Linked DNA regions of Homo sapiens: region 1 is linked to region 2. The links are contacts of gene promoters, found by promoter capture Hi-C in human tissues and cell types (Jung and others, 2019). All regions are on one chromosome and are shown on one strand. The core of a region is centred on a gene start or on the middle of the fragment in contact, and the rest is flanking DNA. Distances in the headings are between cores, read along the strand shown.

Region 1 (4,779 bases), core at 468-2,967, 72 kb after region 2:
AAGCTTATAAAAATGCCCATTGACTGTCAAATGTAATGTCAAAGGAAGAAAAGACTACCCACAATTAAGCTGTACTCTTCCAGGCAATAGATTTTGTTTTTTATTATAAAGAAAAAAGTTCAATCTGAAAAATCAATGTGTTAAGTACAAAAAGTACACACACATTAAGGGTACTTTTTAAACGCTCTGTCTGGAATGCATGAAGACTTAAATACCAATTAACTCAGATTTTCTAAAATCTCTTCAGTAATGTATCTGATTCAAGTAGTTTTAATTTATACTTTTCAGTAATGCACAAAAATTATGTCATTAAAATAGGAAGTTTTCCACTTATTGGAAGAAGGAACATTTTCCCCAAATCACCTTCGATTCAGACCAACATGCCTCATAACCCAAACGGTTGAAAGAAAGAAGTCTGAATTTTAAATCAGCTGTTTTAAAATCCACCTTTAATAGAAAATAGCTGTATGAAAATTATAGTTACAAATATCATGGCCCATCAGTTTAGAAACTCAGTATTTAATAAAATAAGAGATAGAAAAATAAACAGAAATGCTGAGTGCATTTCAACTCAGAAATCCACATTTGTAAGGGTACCAAAACACAAGAAAACAAAAGCAGTTAGGTCTTATTTGTGTAAACCATAAAAATATTGGGGCCAAATTTGTGGTTTTTCTGCAAAAGGATATGGAATGGTCACTGTGTTCTGGAAACAGCTCATACTGGCAGGAGTGATCTGGGGTCCATCTGTTTCCTCCAGGTTGCCTGTGAATTCTTACCATTTCCCATCTGTACATCTGAAGAAAATTACTTTCCACCTAATGCTTATTTTAGAAAGATTATGAATCATTCAAAGTTGGAAAATGGGTACTATGTTAACAAGAGATATATCTGAATAAATTTAATAAATGATATTCATTTAATAAATACAATTAAGTGCTACTATGCTTTGTCCATGATAGTAATTAGCCTTTTGTAAAATGCACAGTTCATGGTGTACAGAGAAATTCTGCCACCAGATCTAATCTGTGCTTATCTATCAGAGATCATGGAGTTACTACGCCCTTGATTAAATTTCAACAATAGGTAGCGGAAGCCAGAGAATTATTCTACGAGGATGTGGAAGCACACAAGCACACCTTACTTCACACAACTGACACACTATATGTAAACGGAATTTTGTCCTACTAACAATCAAAAATGTTGAGAATCTTTTGATAAAATGAATAAAGTCAACCTTTATTCTCTCTTAGTGCCAGATTTTTGAGCACAGTTTTCTTAAAGTTGGTTACACCTTACTCAATATTATTTATCACCACCACTCATTTTTTTTTTTAACCTAAATGGAATTAAAACTCTACAAACTGTTTTTACAACTTTCTTTTCTTACTTACTATAGGGCAGGCCAAATAACGGTCTCCAAAGGCATCAAGGTCCTAATGCCCAGAACTTGTGACTATGTTAGGTTGTGTGATACTAACCAACTCTCCTTAAGATAGAAAGATTATCCTGGTTATCCAGGTGCACCCAATGTAATCATAAACATCCTTAAAAGTGGAAGAGGGAGGCAGGAGGAGAATCAAAGAGACATGATGATGGAGGCAGGGTCAGAGATGACGCTACACTGCTGACTGAACATGGAAGAAGGCAGCCATGAGCCAAGGAATGCAGGTGACAGGTAGCAGCTGAAAAGGCAAGGAAAAGAATTCTTTCCTAGAGCGTCCAGAAAAAAGCAGCCATGCCGACACCTTGACTTTAGTCTACAAGACCTGTGACAGACTTTCAGCCCACAGAACTTGAAGATAATATATTTATTTGTGTTATTTTAAGCCACTAAGTTCATAACAATTTGTTGCAGCTGCAGTAGAAAACTAATATATTATTTCACAGACATCTTTTTACATCAGTATTTACAGATTTTTTTTTTTTTTTTTTTTTGAGACGGAGTTTTGCTCTTGTCACCCAGGCTGGAGTGCAATGGCACGCTCTCGGTTCATTGCAACCTCCGCCTCCCAGGTTCAAGCAATTCTCCTGCCTCAGCCTCCCGAGTAGCTGGGATTACAGGCACCCGCCATTACGCCTAGCTAATTTTTGTATTTTTAGTAGAGACGGGGTTTCACCATGTTGGCCAGGCTGGTCTCGAACTCCTGACCTCAGGTGATCCACCTGCCTCGGCCTCCCAAAGTGCTGGGATTACAGGTATGAGCCACCTTGAGCCACCGCGCCCGGCCCCTATCTCATTTTGTTTTAATGGTGTTTAATATGTTTGACATCTTCCAACAAGATACGTCTGCCTGAAACTCCAATAGGGCAATGAAGAAAACTGATTGCTGAGGAAACATAACTAAAAAGGAATATTGCAACTAAATGTGGGGATCTTATGTTATTAAAGTTTTATCCTCATATACTTAAGTAAGGGTGGTATTTACCAACTCTATTTAATCTAACATTCTTTCTCAATTACGTATCCATCCAGGAAAAGAAAGTAAATGAAAAACTTTTGTCTTTCTAATATTTTTATGATTGTCTCTCCAGGAAATCTATTAAGACTCACCTCAACCAGTCAAATAGCATTCAAATTTCTGTATGTTATTTCATTGCTTTAACATTTTAAGTTTTTATAAAATTGCCTAATCATAAAACTTCCTCTGGGGATATTTCTTCCAGAGAAGCTTTAAGGTCTTTATCATTCCTTAAGAGGGCAAGATCCTTGTACTCTGCTGCTTTTCTTCTGTTACAGTAACTTTCCTGCATAGACCTGTTAACCAGCTCTGATAAAGAAGCCATGTGATGTTGCATAAACAGCATTTACTGTGGGACCCTCTCTTACCTTGCATGGCCTCTCCACAGATAAATGGCATCTCCGTAAAATGAGCAAACCAGACTTCAGTCTTCTGAACCGCAGGACACAGCTAGATTCACTTTAAAGCATACCACTCTATCCTTCAAATTATTATCTCCTTCACAGTGATATGTAAAGTAACAAAACCCCAGGGGGCCCTTTAAACAAAGAGCAAACCTTGCTTCTTAATAAACTGATGCCACTTTTAGACTCCACTGGATACACATCCTTCTGTTACATCTAACAGAGAAATAAGTTGTCCTGTACGAGCCAAGGATATCATTTTAATACCATGATCTGGAAGTGCCCTTAACAACAACAACAACAACAACAATCTAGTCTAGATGTCCCAACTGTTAGAAAGATGAGCTACAACCATCTTACAGGTCTACAATACCTTAACCAGAAATCTATAGCTCTGAAAATTAAAAGTTTTTTCAATAACACTTTTGGTGGCAAAATCTAATCTGACCTGAACTCATCTGACAGCAAAATCTGACCTGAACTGATATGAGGTTATTTATCACTTTTATCCCTTTAGTGTGAATATTCATACATCGTGTTGTAGAAATATCAGTATGAATAGGGCAGCACCACAGATCCCACAGGAAGTGTTATATAATATATAGTTTATGCATCTTACTCTAAAGAACAAAACATAAATCTGAATTCCAAAATGCACCTTGCCCCAAGGGTTTTGAATAAAGGACCAGGAATCTATATTCAAAAACAACTATCGTTTTTTAGTAGAAGTCTCAAAACTTTTAACTATTTTATACTTAACTTGGTTTCTTTTATGTACTTTGAACATTTACTTCATTTTGGAGAGTACACTGGGGAGTTGCATTGCTTCCAGTGGGACAGTCTATGGATGCTTTCATGATTTTTTTTTTTTTTTTTTTTTTCATTTTTGAGATGGAGTCTTGCACTGTCGCCTGGGCTAGAGTGCAATGGCATGATCTCAGCTCACTGCAACCTCCACCTCCTGGGTTCACATGATTCTCCTGCCTCAGCCTCCCGAGTAGCTGGGATTACAGGTGCACACCACCACACCTGGCTAATTTTTGTATTTTTAGTAGAGACAGGGTTTCACTATGTTGCCCAGACTGGTCTTGAAATCCTGACCTTGTGACCTGCCCACCTTGGACTCCCAAAGTGCTGGGATTACAGGCGTGAGCCAATGCGAAGGGCCAATGATTTATTTCAATGACGATTTACATTTGTTTCAAAAGTTTTAAACCAATTTTATGGTGAACACTCACGGAGCACCAAAATGAATTTTTGCAAGGAATATCCTGCCTGCAAATACTCCATCGGCTCATCTTCTCAATGGAGGAAGGAAGCCTGGGTTCTTAAGTTTCATACAATGCTGCCAATTTGGTGAAGAAGAGGTGAATAAATGAGAGATGCTCTGGGGGCAGAACAACTAGTACTTGGTGATTAGACAAAGGTGGGGGACCAAGGAGAAGCAGGTATCAGAAATGATCCCTGGTTCTGCCTCAAATAGCTGTGTGTTGGTGGCTCCATTTCCTGAAATGGGCAAGAGTGAGGGAGATACGATTCTGAAGCAAAGATAAGATTCTGGTAGGATAAAATTTATTTTTAAGTTCAAGATGTCTGTGAGAAACCCAAGAGTACATATTAAGTGAATAGCTGAATATATGAACATGGAGTTCAAGAGAAAAGTCTCAGCAGCTGCTAAACTTGGGAGGGCGTATGGATAGTGTTTAAAAACAAGACAATAGATAATGTCATTGGGTATATGGAAAGAGAAAGGAAAGCGCAGTGTCAAGCTTTAAGGAGCTCCTGCGCCTGGAAGTTGGATAGGATGAGGATCGGACAAAGAGGACTGAGACTGAGAAGTGGTCTGCCGTGGGCACATGAAAGCAAAGGAAAGCACTTCAGGGAGGACGTCAATTAGGTCAAGGCAGCTGGGG
Region 2 (5,417 bases), core at 2,296-4,795:
AGAATCCAGGGCTAATAGGGCAGCCTTGCTCCACGAAGTCCTCAGGGAATAGGTTCCTTCCGGCTACTGCTCTGTCACCCTAGGGTGTAGCATGGTTCTGTCTACCTGCTCCAAGATGGCAGCTGCAGCTCCAGTCATCACGCCTACATTTCGGCCAACAGGGTAGGGGAGGAAGGGATTAAGAAAACACGGGCAAAGAAAATATGCCTACTGCTCTTTAAGCAAAGTTTTCCACAAGTTGCCCTACACAGTGAAGAATCGCCTCATGCCCTGTATAGCTTTCAAATGTCCCACTGAACTATCATGTCACTGAAAAACAATAAAACCTGTAGTTATCTGAATCCAGACGCCAACTTTTCTTTACATATAAACACAAGACACTTTTGCACTGGTTTAATATACAATGGGGAGTAGGGTATTGAGGCAGGGAAGGTGAAAAAGCCAGTAATAGGTTGTCATCAAGAAGTAACCACTGTAGGCAACTAGAGCTTAATCCCACGGGGGAACAGGGGCCAAGGGAGTGAGAGTATTTACACACCAATGGCAACATGAGGGTTTTTATACACCAATGGCAACCTTGGTATATAAATACCCTCACTCTCTTGGCCCCTGTTAGAGCCAACAGGTTAAGAGCTCTTCCCAGAGAGCATTATTTCTGACTCTTCCAGCATGCAACATGTATACCTTCGGATAGGAAGTGGAGGGGCTAGCAGCTGGAGTGGGCTCAGAGTGCACCAAAATGGTAACAACCAAGGGGTATGCGGTGGGGGTAGGGACCAACAACATTGTTATAGTAGGACAATAAAGAATACATTAAGGTTTTTGTTATAAAAGGAACACTTCAAATTAGTTGTTAAAGACTGGAGTATTGACTCTGATAGGGTTGAGAACCACTGTCTAGAATCTAGACTGATTGTGGGTTGAAGCCAGGAAGGCTATCTAAAAGAAGAAAAGATCATTATTATTTTGACTCTAAATTCTAAGGCAGTGAGAAGAGCAACACAGAAAGCTGTTACAGCATTTTAGACAACTTTCCCCTACACATTCCTTTCCAAACACCCTGAAGTCTTCCGGTTTGCTAGGTTCTACCAAAGCTTGACATCGTTATGCTTTTGACTTGCCCTCCATCACCTACCTTGCCCACTTGTAATTGAGTCAGATTAAACAATGCGTTTTCCTGTGTTCTGTGTTGTTTTTGACTCTATTGAATCATTTAGCATCACAGCTGCATATCTGACTCATCTTCCTCCCTGGAGGGGAGCACTTCCAGGGTAGAAAATTGAAAAGGGAGATGGAGTGCCTGCTAGAGAGCAGACAAAAGTCAGAGCAGACAGATGAGGCTGACACTCAGGCTGACTCTTAAAATTGGTTCCCCTCCAGCACCTCACAAATCACACGTCCTTGGCAAAGCAGTGCAGATTAAACAAGCCAACTGTTGTTTGCACGTCATGAGGTGGACCACATTTCTGCCATATTTAATGCCCGAATGACTGTGCTGAGCTAGGCCTACCCATTCAGCAGTTGGGGGCACACACTAGAGACTACATATTTCTGAGATGAATTTATTGTGAGGGAGCTTTACAGATAGACTGTGCTTCACAGATAGGCGGTGGTTTCTTGAGTGAATGCAATGGTTAAAATAGCTTCTAATAAATCTAGAGCCAACTTCAGGGCTACCTAGATAACTAATTCATACATTCTAAAAGGCTCGTTTTGACCCAAAGTTTCTCAGCCATAGAGGCAAAAACAATAATTACAGTAATCTACAACTTATGCAAATTCTAAAAACTGTGCTTGGCTCCTCATCTTCAGGTTCCTATGACAAATTTATGGTGGACTGAATGTTGTGTCCCCACCCCCAATTCAGATGTTGAAGCCCTAATCCCCATTGTTGATGGCATTTGAAGATGGGGCCTTTGGGAGGTAACTGGGTTAAGGTCATGAGGTAGAGGCCTCAAGATGTCATTAGCGTCTGGGTAAGAGCCATCAGAGTTCATGTGTTCTCTCTCTCCCTGCCAGATGATGGCACAGTGAAAACGCGGCCATCTGAAAGCCAGGAAGAGAACCCTCGCAAGAACCCAACCATGCTGGCATCCCAATCTTCAACTTCCAGCCTCCAGAACTGTATGAGAAAATACATTTCTGTTGTTTAAGCCACTGTCTATGGTACTTTGTTATGACAGCCAAAGCTAAGACAAAACTCATAGAAAAAAACTTCCAGAAAATGATTTTCCCTCCCTCCAGGTAGCTAAGAAAACAGTTGCAACTTCTTGCCCTCATAGCACTTCTCATTTTCCCAGTTCTTGTATCCACTGGCTTGCTCAGTGTCTGTCTCCCGCAGGTGTCATGTCTGCAGAGGGCCTGGGGAGCAGAGATGTTGCTTATCTTGTTCATGCTGCAGCTTCACCTGCAACAGTGCTTGGGCCATAGCAAGCACTTGGTATGTTCAGTTGTTGTTGGGAAGGGGTAGAACAAGGAGAGGCCAAGATCCAGAAGTAAAAGGCTGATACCTCCCTCAAGGCAGTAGCCAGCAGCTGGGACTTCAATCCTAATGGGGGAGGCAGCTGAACTCCAGAGGCCTGTGCCCTCCCTTCCTTTCCTCCCTGGCCTGGTATCCTGACTTAAACCTCTTTCCCTATCAAACTTTAAAACTGGGGGCAGAAGCGGATCTTAGAGATAATCAAATGCAAAACCTTTGTTTTACAGATAAGGAATCTGACATTCAAGGAGGTATTCAGTAGAGTTAACATGTAGTAAAATCGAGTTTTCCTCTTTTGTTTCCTTAGTCCTGAAAGATGCTGATGCCTGGCATGATGCCTGGCAAAAGACTTACCTTCCTTTCCATGACTTCTGTACCAAATTTGTCAGTTGAAGCTTATCTATTTCTGCTATCTTGAGAGTGAGAATTCTTGATTGAGACTGCAAATAAGTAAGCACCCACCACATGCAATTCCGGACTGAGTACACAGAAAGGATAGCCAGTTCTTGACTCAGAAGATGCATTAGTGTGACTGATGCCTAAGGAATTTGTCCTAAATCTTGTTTTAAAAGTATTTCCATTAGCTTTTTAAAACGTACTATTAAATGCCACAACCCCCTACCCTTACTATGCTTGTTTTTCAAAATAGTGCTTTTTACTAGACAAACCCTAAAAAAGCACTTGGAAACTTAATGATGAGAAATGGCCCTTACAAAAATAGCTGGCTTCCTCTGGGTCCAAATGCTGTTGATTAGGACCAGGGCAAATGCCCATTGTACTCAATCTTCCTGACAACTCATTATTCCATACTGAAGAAATGGCTTCTCGAAGCAAAACCTGCTCTTTCAAGATCATAAAATTCCCCATATCATTTGAGTTAAAATGAAACTAAGCCATTTGAGTTAGATTACCCAGATTTATATCTTTAGCTATTAAAAACTGACAGGCAAGCTAGGCAGTTATGGATACATCTTCTGGTAACTGAGGATTATTTGCCAAGGTCTCTTACCTGCAAGACTGTAAACATGCATGTTGCTCCTATCCAGACAAAAGCTTTAGTAGGATACTAGTGGCCTGTTAGCTGCCAAAGTCACCTCACTGCTCCCGATAAAATCTCTGCACATCCTCTTTGATGTAATCCACAGATGCCTAACCCAGCCTAACAACTAAATTACTCACAAGCCTTTCCTGCCACAAATCTTCTTAAGTATTCCTTGAAGTCTAATTTGTATCATTTTCAAACCTACATTCTAGTATTTTCTCTCAAATTGCCAACACATAGTTAACGGCAGAAAAACATAGTATTTTTGTTGATTAGTTCAAGATGACAGACATTCCACAACAGAAGATAGCATTTTTAATGAAAGAAAAAAATGTGGCAGGACCGGAAATAAGCCAATAACCTACTAACCTTATTAAATCTCTCATGTTATGGTGAGAAAACAACTGAAGACTGTTCAGCTAATAATAGAAACCCATCAAAAACAGTACCTTCTGGTCAATCCCCTCCCAAGCCACTGTTCTGAACCTAACAAATAGTGCTTTCTGTCTCAGATAGGAGCTACTTCTTTATCTGAAAACTTAATACTGCAGGGAGTGCTCAGTGGGGAGAGCATTTGGAAGGGGATATTGCAGAAAGGAGAGGAAGGTATTGCTGACAGCAAGGCAAAAGGTAGAGACCAAATGGCAATTATCAGAGGGTCCTCAGCCCTTCTACCCATATTAATCACATGGCTTTCCTTATCTCTCCATCATAGATGAAAACACAAGTTGGGAATGTGATACATTTGTGTTTTGAGTACAGCATATTTTGTGAAAAGCACTTGATTTCAATAAGATTTTCATTTTTAACTCACTTTTAAGAACTTTCAATACATAACCAGCTATGAAATGACATCTCTGGCAGCTGTAGTAGCAAAAAGCACTGGACTTCTAGGGAAGTAGGGAGTAGGGAAGTTCTAGGCTGGAGTCCCAGCTCTGGCAGTGAGCAAATCTTGGTCACTGCTTGTCTGAAAAATGGGGGGAAATGGGGATAACACCTGCATCCTTGGGCTGCTGTAAGCATTCATTACGCATGTGAATGACCATTGTAAACTGCTGCAGGAGTGCCAAGGACTTCTATTTACAAACATTGGCCTGGAGATTTAGGGTTTTTCTTCCAATACACTTCAAAATTTATAACTTTAATATGCTATCTGAAAAGCATATAGTAGGAAGAATCCAAAGTAACTGAACAGTTTCATTCAAGACTCCAGTAAAAGGACGAATTGTAACATGGCTTTTCTTAGAACAGAGACAGCCTATCATCATTGGAAATCTTCTCAATGGGTCAATTTGTCTCAAAGTTTTTGTTTGTCCATTTCCACATATTATCCACCCCCGCCCAGAGTCAGAAATTCTGTAAATTTGGCTTTACCAGGCAAATGTGGTTATTTATGTGTTTGTTCAGAAACTCAAAACAATCTCCAATGTAAATGCAAAGTATTTAACATAAACGGATTTTTAAGGGTTGGTCCCCTTCCAACAGAGGACAGGCACATTCTGGTAGAGGCAGCAACAAGATGGAAAGGCCTCTTGAGAAAACATTACAACTGGGAGATAATTAATATCTAACGTTTCTAAGCAGAATTTTAAAGCCTCACCTTCCCTTCCCTCGATCTGTTTAGGAGGAAAAAAAATAACGAGTAACTATCAAAATATGCTTTTTATTCAAAGAAATAATAGATTTCTTTGGAGACCCGTGTCCTTGGGTTATTGGGGTCAGAAAGTTAATTTGCTCTTTGCTAGAAAGGGTGCTATAACTATTGGTTTACGTTTATTTTAAAGACAGAGATTTCTAAAACCCCAGAGGGACTTTTGAGGCCAATACTTAGAGGCATGGATTACAATGTGGGCTAAAGAAATACTAAGTCTGGGTTTCCTTTCATCTTTTAGGCTG

Evidence for each region. Contacts are between HindIII fragments. The study calls those that stand out against the background at their distance.
Region 1: a fragment that was not itself captured here is called in contact with the fragment with the promoter of MPP4 in region 2 in 2 of the 25 tissues and cell types used here (mesenchymal stem cells and psoas muscle).

What each region holds. Positions count from the first base shown.
Region 1 is chr2:201,769,126-201,773,904 of GRCh38, forward strand. All of the region lies in intron 1 of ALS2 (alsin Rho guanine nucleotide exchange factor ALS2), which reads right to left. Among named protein-coding and RNA genes, the nearest start is that of ALS2, 9.4 kb to the right of the region's middle. The HindIII fragment of the contact is 3,871 bases long and covers 1-3,653 here.
Region 2 is chr2:201,695,099-201,700,515 of GRCh38, forward strand. MPP4 (MAGUK p55 scaffold protein 4) reads right to left here and starts at 3,546. Exons shown (of 22, transcript NM_033066.3): 1 at 3,489-3,546. ALS2 (alsin Rho guanine nucleotide exchange factor ALS2) reads right to left here. Exons shown (of 34, transcript NM_020919.4): 34 at 5,169-5,417. RefSeq lists enhancers at 4,176-4,677, 4,678-5,177. The HindIII fragment of the contact is 2,902 bases long and covers 3,204-5,417 here.